Regions from separate parts of the Homo sapiens genome. Here regions 1 and 2 are each linked to region 3. Evidence: promoter capture Hi-C in human tissues and cell types (Jung and others, 2019). All regions are on one chromosome and are shown on one strand. The core of a region is centred on a gene start or on the middle of the fragment in contact, and the rest is flanking DNA. Distances in the headings are between cores, read along the strand shown. Region 1 has its middle 7.8 kb from the start of MIR6819. Region 2 overlaps MYH9 (myosin heavy chain 9). Region 3 holds the start of APOL2 (apolipoprotein L2).

Region 1 (3,592 bases), core at 1,051-3,550, 39 kb before region 3:
AAAAAAATTAGCCGGGCGTGGTGGTGTGTGCCTGTAATCCCAGCTACTCAGGAGGCTGAGGCAGGAGAATCGCTTGAACCCGGGAGGCAGAGGTTGCAGTGAGCTAAGATTGTGCCACTGCACTCTAGCCTGGGCGAGAGTGAGACTCTGTCTCAAAATAAATAAATAAAAAAATTTAAAAAAGTGGACACTATCTGGGTCAGCTTAAGAAGGTGACCGATTTTTGGCAAAACAGCTGCATGCACATTCCCTGGCCCTTAGCTTCCTATGTGCCACCCTGCCCTGTCACCCTGGGCAAGTCACTCCCTTCCCGGCTAGCTTCCTTGTCTGTTAAGTAAAGTACACTGGATCTTTGCTGCTGGATGGCGGTCCTTGCACCAGAAGCGTTGGCTCCACGTGAGAACTGCTTAGAAACTATTTCAGACCCCGCCCCCAACCCTCTGAATCCAACTCCACTTTAGCAAGACAAGATCTACAAACGATCTTCATGGCATTTTGTCAGAATCTTTTTTTTTTTTTTTTCCCTGAGATGGAGTCTCACTCTGTCACCCAGGCCGGAATGCAGTGGCTCAATCTCAGCTCACTGCAACCTCCGCCTCCCAGGTTCAAGCTATTCTTCTGTCTCAGCCTCCCGAGTAGCTGGGATTACAGGTGCCCGCCACCATGCCTGACTAATTTTTTTGTATTTTTAGTAGAGACAGGGTTTCACCATGTTGGTCAGGCTGATCTGAAACTCCTGACCTCCAAAGTGTTGGGATTACAGGCGTGAGCCACCACACCTGGATTTTTTTTTTTTTTTTTCTGAGACAGAGTCCCTGTCACCCAGGCTGGAGAGCAGTGGAGCGATCTTGACTCACTGCAACCTGTGCCTCCCAGGTTCAAGTGATTCTCGTGCCTCAGCCTTCTGAGTAGCTGAGACTACAGGCGTGCACTACCACACCTGGCTAATTTTTGTATTTTTAGTTGAGATGGGGTTTTGCCATGTTGGCCAGGGTGGTCTCGAACTCCTGACCTCAGGAGATCCACCTGCCTCGGCTTCCCAAAATGCTGGGATTACAGGCATGAGCCACCACACCTGGCCGTTTCACCCCATTTGAACCTTAGTTTTCTCCTCTGGGAAGCCAAATTAATAAATGTTTTTATCACAGGGCCGTCGTTGAAGCATGTATGACTATGTGTGTGAAAATGTTCTGCAAACCAAAAAGGGCTCAGGTGCTATAATTTTTTTTCTGCAAAGGTTGGGCTTTGAAAGGACTTTAATTAAAGATTTTAACTGTAAGATATTCATAACCTAAAATTGCCTTTTTAACCATTTTTAGGTGAACAGTTTCGTGGAATTACATTCACATTGTTGCACAACCACCATCATCCACAGAACTCTTCTCTTGCAAAACTGACACTTTGTACCCAGTAAACATGAACTGCTCATTCTCCCTCCCCCAGCCCTTGACAACCAACACTCTGCTCCTTATCTTTATAAATTTGACCACCGTAAGAACCTCACATGAACGGAATCATACAGCATGTGTCCTTTTGTGACGGGCTTATTTCACTTAGCAGAATGTCCTTAAGGTTCATCCTTGTTACAGCATGGGTCAGAATTTCCTTCCTCTTTTAAGGCGGAATAATATTCCCTGTGGGTACACGTACCATTTTGCTTATCCGTTCATCTGTCAATGGACACCTGGGTTGCCTCCACCATTTGGCTATGGTGAACGATGCTGCTATGAGCATGACTGTACAAATATCTGGTCAGGTCCCTGTTTTCATGCTGTTGGGTATATTCCCAGAAGTGGAATTGAGGGATCCTATGGTAATTCTATGTTTAAGTTTTCAAAGAACCGTCATATAGTTTTCCACAGCAGCTAAGTGCTATTATTTTATTTATTTATTTATTTAGAGACAGAGTCTCGCTCTGTCACCCAGGCTGGAGTGCAGTGGTGCGCTCTCAGCTCACTGCAACCTCTGCCGCCCGGGTTGAAATGATTCTCCTGCCTCAGCCTCCCAAGTAGCTGGGACTACAGGTGCCTGCCACCACACCCGGCTAATTTCTGTATTTTTAGTAGAGACAGGGTTTCACCATGTTGGCCAGGCTGGTCTCGAACTCCTGACCTCAGGTCCTCAGGTGATCCTCCCACCTCGGCCTCCCAAAGAGCTGGGATTACAGGCGTGAGCCACCACGCCCAGCTAAGTTGCTATCATTTTTAAGGTCATGCTTTGGCACCGCAATGACTCCAGACAAGAGTCTCCTTTGTCTCTTGGCTGCTGGAGGGAAGGGGATAGAGGTTGGCGCATGTCCCTTGGTGCATGTTCCAGAGATCCTGTTGCTGTGGGTGCTCACAGCACCCTCCCTACCCTCCACTCCTCATTTCTCCTGTTTGGGATCCACTGAGCTAGATGCTTCTCCCTCTCCCTGGGCTAAAGCTTATTTGCAGCACCCTCAGTACCTACTAGCAGAGAGGCATTCAAGCTGAAATCCTGCATCTATATCAATTACTCGATTACCTATTTCAAATCTGAATCCAAAAACTACTCTGTTAACTCTGTGTATGAGTCCAGTTCTCTTAAATGTTATATGTGCATCAAAATGAAACACACATTTGTCTAGACTTCAGCAGGAAAATATGAGCTTGATTGTGTTTGTCATTTTTATACCTACTTCTGAACCTTCCTGAAGCTGACACCTGTTACTCAGGGCCCAATTTTTCCATATGAGGAAAGACAAAAAGGATTGTCCATGAGACACTGCTAGTGGCCGGGCTGTGAGTGGCCGGGACCAGTGGCTGCTCCCTCAGCCTCCTATGGGGTCCCCAGGGGCTGTGGGCATGAAACACAATTCCCTTCCCCTGCACTTTGCAGTCCTAGGCTTGTTTGTCTCCGCTAGCCACTGATGCCTTCAGAAGCCCCCATTGTCAAATGCCCAGCTTGAAGCTCGCCACCTCCTTCCAGGGTGCCTTGAAAAAGAGCAGAACAGGGCGCTGGGGTCCCTGTCATGGTGCACACAGACAATGACATCGGGCATGACCTGGCCAAGCACACCTCTCCATTGGCGGGGCAGGGCGGGGTGGGGGTGGTGGCTGTGAGGAGGGCTGTCCACACTTCCAGCTTCCACTAGGTGGTGCTGGCGATGTCACCGCACATCTTCCAAAGCAATTTCAGGGTTCATTTCCCCCTTCGAGTTGGGTTTGCCTTCTCAGTGGCCGAAATTGCATATGGACCCAAGATTTTGGCCCAAGCCCCCTCCTCTGGAGCTGCAGACATCCTGGGTGAATTTTCCTGCGGTGTTGATGGTGAAACTGAGCCCTATTCTTAGTCACTAGATCCTCGGAATCTCCAAATGGATGGTCTCTGCTCACGTCCCACGTCCCTGAAGTTAAGAGACACCTGATTCTCACCTGGATTTGAGTCTGCAGTCCCCATTCTGGTTGCTCCACTATGAGATTACGTTCAGGGAGTCTGTCGTCAACCTAAAATAACAACAGAAAGGGAGTCTCTGAAGATAACAAGTTTATTCTGGAATGAGCAGAAGGATTTGTAAATCTGGGAATACATGATGTGCCAGGACACCCCATGGTGGGACCACAGGCCGACT
Region 2 (3,198 bases), core at 27-2,526, 62 kb before region 3:
CACTGCTCCGCGCTGACCATGTTCCTCACCACACAGAGCATTTGCCAAGCGGCAGCAGCAGCTTACCGCCATGAAGGTCCTCCAGCGGAACTGCGCTGCCTACCTGAAGCTGCGGAACTGGCAGTGGTGGCGGCTCTTCACCAAGGTGCGTGCTAGAAGGGCCTCCTGAGTAGCTGGGACTACGGGTGCACACCACCATACATACCTGGCTAATTGTTTGTATTTTTTGTAGAGGTGTGGTCTCACCATGTCGCCCAGGTTGGTCACAAACTCTTGGGCTCCAGCAATCCTCCTACCTCAGCCTCCCAAAGTGCTGGAATTACAGGCATGAGCCACTGTGCCCGGCCCTTTTTGATTTTTAGTAGAGACAAGGTCTCACTATCTTGCCCAGGCTGACCTTCCTGGCCTTTAAAAAAAAAATCTCTTTATTTTTAAACTTGTCCGGGCTGCTTTTGTGTATAATACATAATTTATGGTAATGGCGAAAAACCAACTCACAAAAAGCCTAAAGAATTAAATAAAAATTCACACATAAACCCTTAGCCTAAACCAACAGCAGCAGCTATTTTAGTGTTTAATTTCTCGCTCTTTTTCTCACTGCCTATAAAACCTCAGCTATGTAAACAGTATACATTCTTCCATAGCTGAGTTTGACTCATATAAACAGTTGTAGTTCGTACGTTCCATTTATGATTCCTTCATAAGCATCGTTTTTTTAGAGGTAGTGTGCTGTTCCCTAGGGAACACATCATTATCTGGGTACTTTTTCAGAGATGGGTCCTTCCTCATTTTCTTGCTGTGATAAACAATGCCGAGGTGAACATCTTCACGCACACGCAGGGATAGTTTCCCTGGAATGTAGTTAGCGGGTCAGAAGCCCGTGGTACAGAGCGCCAGGAAGGATGTGCCTGCTTGCAGCCCCCACCACAGCGTGTCTTCTTGCCCCTCACTTTCATGTTTCCAGAGGTGAGGGAGAGGCCTCACACCTGTTGGCAGAGGCGGGCATCTTCCAGCCGAGCATGTCTCTACCTCTATCTCCTCTCCCAGGTCAAGCCGCTGCTGCAGGTGAGCCGGCAGGAGGAGGAGATGATGGCCAAGGAGGAGGAGCTGGTGAAGGTCAGAGAGAAGCAGCTGGCTGCGGAGAACAGGCTCACGGAGATGGAGACGCTGCAGTCTCAGGTGGGTGTCAGTGCAGGCTCAGTCCAGGTCGCACGACCTGCCTGGTGCTGCCACCTGCTGGCCATCGGTAGGCACGGCATGCTGGAAGTTTCTATTACTATAGGAGTTTTCTACAACTGAGTTTCCTATTACTGTAAACAGTGACCAGTCTCTCTGCAGACCCCATTGGGTGTTAAGTGATGTAGGGAGGCCACTTAATAGAGTGGAACGTTCACAAGTGTTGGGTTCAAACCTCAGCTCTACCACATGACTTGAGCCCATTTCCTGGGACCTTGCTCTGGAGCTCATGGGGTAGTGAAAAATCAAGGACACGATGTCTGGAAGGTACCTGGAAGCTTCAGAGCTCTCCAGATGAAAGCTACTTTTGTCTGCATGTTCCTTTCCCTCTGGGATCCCGAGCCATGGCGTCCGTCCTTGAGGATGGAGTGGCTTGAGGGTGTTGCGAGGAGCTTGTGTTTTCCACTTGTTGTTTGCAGCTCATGGCAGAGAAATTGCAGCTGCAGGAGCAGCTCCAGGCAGAAACCGAGCTGTGTGCCGAGGCTGAGGAGCTCCGGGCCCGCCTGACCGCCAAGAAGCAGGAATTAGAAGAGATCTGCCATGACCTAGAGGCCAGGGTGGAGGAGGAGGAGGAGCGCTGCCAGCACCTGCAGGCGGAGAAGAAGAAGATGCAGCAGAACATCCAGGTTCCTGCCCGCTGCACCCGGGGAGGGGTGGCGCCGGAGGGGCAGGGCGGGGCGGAGGAGCAGGAACCAGGAGCTGGGAGAACATGGAATTAGGGTCCAAGGAGGCTGCTCCTCACGCAATCTGCTTGGGGCTCTCAGTGAGAGGTGTTCCCTTTGGGCTGGTAGTTTGTGACATGTGCATCTGAGATCTCCATGAGCACTGCCTGGGCCAGCATCAAGGCCAATTTGATTTCCCTGCCATTAGCCCTGGCCCTGGCTAGCCGAAGGGGCACAGGGCCAGCACCTCTGCGTCCTGCCTGTTTCATGGGTGGGAGCTTGCTGCAGGAAACCCTTCAGAACATTGCACCGATGTTCTGGCCCTGTGTCCCAGTTTGAAATCTGGAATCCTACAAATGGGGCTTGGGCCCTGCCTCGGCTGTGGCCCTGGGCTGGCGGACCTTGCCGTCCCCACCTCAGCCATGGCCCTGGGCTCACAGACCTTGCTATTTTCTCCTTGGCGTTTGGATCTGGCCTTCGGACCTTGCTGCCTTCACCTTGGCCATGCCTCTGGGCCTGCTGTCCTTACCGTGTCTCTGGCCCCCGGCAGGAGCTTGAGGAGCAGCTGGAGGAGGAGGAGAGCGCCCGGCAGAAGCTGCAGCTGGAGAAGGTGACCACCGAGGCGAAGCTGAAAAAGCTGGAGGAGGAGCAGATCATCCTGGAGGACCAGAACTGCAAGCTGGCCAAGGTGAGGCCCGTGGCTGTCGCCTGCCGCTGCTCCAGGGGCGCCGTGGATGGGAGAGTGTGGTCACCCTTGCAGGGCCTGGCTCCCCGCTGCTGCTGCTTCCTGTCTCTTCTGCCTGCAGCATGAGGGCTTCTGCTTAACTGCAAGTGCTCCCTGGAGGTCCCATGGGCCTTAGTTGAGGGATTTCCTCATAAGCAAAGGGGCCCTGGGGAAGGGTTTGTCCTTTCCCCTCTGGAAAGCTCTTCTTTGCCAGCCGTGAGACCCGAGCCTGTGTAAAGGTGGCCATCTGTGCAGCATTGCAAGTGTTGGTCACTGTGGGGTTGGGGACACCTTGGTGGCTCTGTGTTGAGATACGGGGTACTCTTCCTCCACTGTCCCTGGGCGGCAGCTATTCCTCTTGAGAATGAGTTGGGTCCCTGTCGGTGTCTGCCCAGGGAGCAGATAGCAGCCGGGGAACCAGTTAGAGGAGAAGGCAGGAGAAGGCAGCCTCCCCACCTTTCGGGCCTCCTCAGAACATGGGAGCCCCAAAGGCTGGGGAGGCTGAGGTGGCAGGACGCCCACCCGGGACTGGGATGAGGGGACTCAGGTGCTTGTGCCGAGCTGTGGCCGCTGGGC
Region 3 (3,172 bases), core at 68-2,567:
AGTAATCCCACTACCGGGTATCTACCCAGAGGAGAAAAGTTATTATATAAAAAAGATACTCGCACATGCATGTTTATAGCTGCATAATTTGCAACCGAAAAAATATGGAACCAACCTAAATGCTCATCAGCCAACAAGTGGATGAAGAAAATGTGTGTGTATATACACACACACACACACACACACACACCCCTATATATGTATATGCCATGGAATATTACTCAGCTGTAAAAAGGAAGGGAATAATGGCATCCGTAACAATCTGGATGAAGTTGGACACCATTATTCTGAGTGAAGTAACTCAGGAATGGAAAACCAAATATTGTATGTTCTCATTTATTAGTAGGAGCTAAGCTATGAAGACACAAAGTCACAAGAAGGATACAATGGGCTGGGCGCCGTGGCTCACACCTGTAATCCCAGCACTTTGGGAGGCCAAGGCAGGTGGATCACTTGAGGTCAGGAGTTCAAGACCAGCCTGGCCAAGATGGTGAAACCCCATCTCTACTAAAATTACAAAAAATTAGCTGGGTGTAGTGGCAGGCACCTGTAATCCCAGCTACTCGGAAGCTGAGATGGGAGGATGGCTTGATTGTGCCACTTGAAGTAGCTATGATTGTGCCACTGCTCTCCAGCCTGGGCTACAGAGCAAGACTCTATATCAAAAACATAACAGAAAACATAACCTCAGAAGCATTACAATAAATATGCAATAAGCATCCACCCAGCATGTGTGGGGGACTGTGCTGATGCTGATGGCATGTGTGGGAGTAAGGCAGGCATCTGAGGAATGTGGGGGAACGGAAGGACGGGGAGTAATCTGGAGAGCCCCACGGTCAGTCAGTGGCAGGTCTTTCTTGAGCTCAGAAAGGTTAGGTAACTAGTTCAGATCAGACAGTAAAACAGGGGCAGAGCCTGGAATTGCACTGAGGCTTGAGTCTGACTTCTCTCCCCCACCTGCTGTGCCCTTAAACTGCAGAGATCGGGGCGGGGGTTGGGGGGCAAGCGGCTCAGATGGGTTCAAAAAACTCCCCAGGCTCAACTCTGGTTCTGACTGCCTGAGACATGGGCAGCTGACACAGCAGACCTTGAATCCTGAGGATGTGAGGCAGGTGGGTTGGATGAGAGGGACCCGGATGTCTGGTCTGCGGCTGCTCCTCTAAGTGCAGCAGCAAGGAGGCTGGGCCTGGACTGCAGGTGGTGCTGGGGAGCAGCGTGTTTACTGTGCTTGGTCATGAGCTGCTGGGAAGTTGTGACTTTCACTTTCCCTTTCGAATTCCAGGGTATATCTGGGAGGCCGGAGGACGTGTCTGGTTATTACACAGATGCACAGCTGGACGTGGGATCCACACAGCTCAGAACAGTTGGATCTTGCTCAGTCTCTGTCAGAGGAAGATCCCTTGGTAAGTTGGGGATAGTGTGATCTACCCCCATGTCCTTATTCTTGCAATAGCTCTATAAGGGAAGGATCATTCAGCTTTTGTAGATAAGCTCAGAGAGGTTAGGTAGCTGGTTCAGATCAGACAGGAAAGCAGTGGCAGAGCCGGGATTTGCACCCAGGCTTGAGTCTGATTGCTCCCTCCCTCCTGCTGGGCGGGTAAACTGTAGAGAGAGGTGGGGAAAACAGCTTAGATGGGTTCACAAAGCTCCCCGGGCTCAGCTCTGGTTCTGACACCCTCAGACACGGCCAGCTGACCCCAGAAGAAAGGTAGGTGTTGGGGGTGCCCATCTCTTTGGGAAATTTGAAGGAATCAAAGAAGGTGGAGGAGGGGAGGTGACCTGGAGCCCGGCATGTCCTTGTGGCCGGGCCACACCCAGGCTGGCCCCAGGGTGCTGCTGCTGAAGCCCAATGGGAACAACAGATTTCTTTTGAGACACAAGGAACTCAGAGGTTGTCTCACTCACCCTGAGTCTGAGCACCTACTTGTGCCAGGCCCTGTGGGGAAACTGAGGCCCTGGGAGGGGAATGACTTGCCAGGGTCCCGTGTCAGGAGGCTGAGCAGGCAGATCATAGGACTTCACGTCTCTGGCCCTCACCTCTGTCCCTCTGTTCAGACCTCTGAGCTGATAGAGAAGAAACAGGCTGTGCTGTGTCCCTAATGGGAAACATGGCTGAGACAGGGGAGTGAGAAGGTCGCATTGCAGAATGGTACCTGTGGCATGATGCCAGCTTTGCAATCATGAGATTCAAAAGCCACACTGTGGAATTGTGAGTATAACTACAGGAGTGAGAGCTTAGGTCTCTGTGTTTGTAGAAGCAGAATCAAACCTGGACACTGTTGGATTATTAAAATCACCCATTTTTGCTTCAATATCAGAGTCACAAGGGCAGATGTTGGCCTCCCCTCTGCCCTCCAAGAGCTGTGTGACTCTGGGCAAGTCACCTCCCCTCCCAGCCTAAGATTTTTCCCCTCTAAAAAACTTGATAGAGCTGCCAAAAGTCCATGAAATCAGGGGGGTAATTTCTGTGAAATATGAGTCATGGTCTTATTTGTTCTTCACCAAAAAGAGATGCCCATCAAGATAGAAAGAAAAATTAAATTCAATTTCTCAACTGAAAGTGAAACTGAAGCTGGGCCATGTCATCCAGAGGCTGGTTGCTTTTAGTTCAAGTAATGCCTCCTGCACCTGGGATTTCAGCCAGGCTGTGCCAGGGAGGGCGGAGGGCATCCAGGTCAGTCGTAGGGGGTGCAGCTGGGAACACAACAGTGTCCCCATTGAATGTTCAGAGTCTAAAGGGGAGACAGAGGCCCAAAGAGCCACATACAGGTAGAGCTCCCTCTGGAAAGCAGAGTGCTCAGGGAGCCTGGGGAGGGTTGGGGGCCGCCGCATGGACCAGGCAGCTTTGGGTGGGTCTCTGAGGACAGGTGACTTGCACATGGTGGGGACAGTGGGGGGGACATTCCAGGGCGAGGGAGCAGCTGAGTGAAGGCCTGAGGCTGGGGATGGGAGTGGGAGGAGTAGATGGGCTCCAGGAGGCACCGAAGCAGGGCGTCAGTGGGTGCCTGGACCTAAGGTGACTGTGGTGGCAGGGAGCGGTGAGGAAGGTGGGGTCCAGAGCATCAGAGGGCCTGTGTGCCCTGCTATGGGGTTTGAACTTGACCGTGGCTTTTCACTGAAGATTCCTCAGAAGGGTGCAGTGCCACGGCTGAGGCCTGTAATTCAGTGCTGT

What was found. Contacts are between HindIII fragments. The study calls those that stand out against the background at their distance.
Region 1: a fragment that was not itself captured here is called in contact with the fragment with the promoter of APOL2 in region 3 in 1 of the 25 tissues and cell types used here (bladder).
Region 2: a fragment that was not itself captured here is called in contact with the fragment with the promoter of APOL2 in region 3 in 1 of the 25 tissues and cell types used here (adrenal gland).

What each region holds. Positions count from the first base shown.
Region 1 is chr22:36,277,357-36,280,948 of GRCh38, reverse strand. No RefSeq gene overlaps it. Among named protein-coding and RNA genes, the nearest start is that of MIR6819, 7.8 kb to the left of the region's middle. The HindIII fragment of the contact is 4,206 bases long and covers 198-3,592 here.
Region 2 is chr22:36,299,515-36,302,712 of GRCh38, reverse strand. MYH9 (myosin heavy chain 9) reads left to right here. Exons shown (of 41, transcript NM_002473.6): 20 at 37-145; 21 at 1,048-1,179; 22 at 1,656-1,862; 23 at 2,449-2,586. Among named protein-coding and RNA genes, the nearest start is that of MIR6819, 14 kb to the right of the region's middle. RefSeq lists an enhancer at 1,558-2,757. The HindIII fragment of the contact is 3,060 bases long and covers 1-2,806 here.
Region 3 is chr22:36,237,672-36,240,843 of GRCh38, reverse strand. APOL2 (apolipoprotein L2) reads left to right here and starts at 1,317. Exons shown (of 5, transcript NM_030882.4): 1 at 1,317-1,403. RefSeq lists enhancers at 1,029-1,078, 1,089-1,338, 1,876-2,390. The HindIII fragment of the contact is 12,319 bases long and covers 1-3,172 here.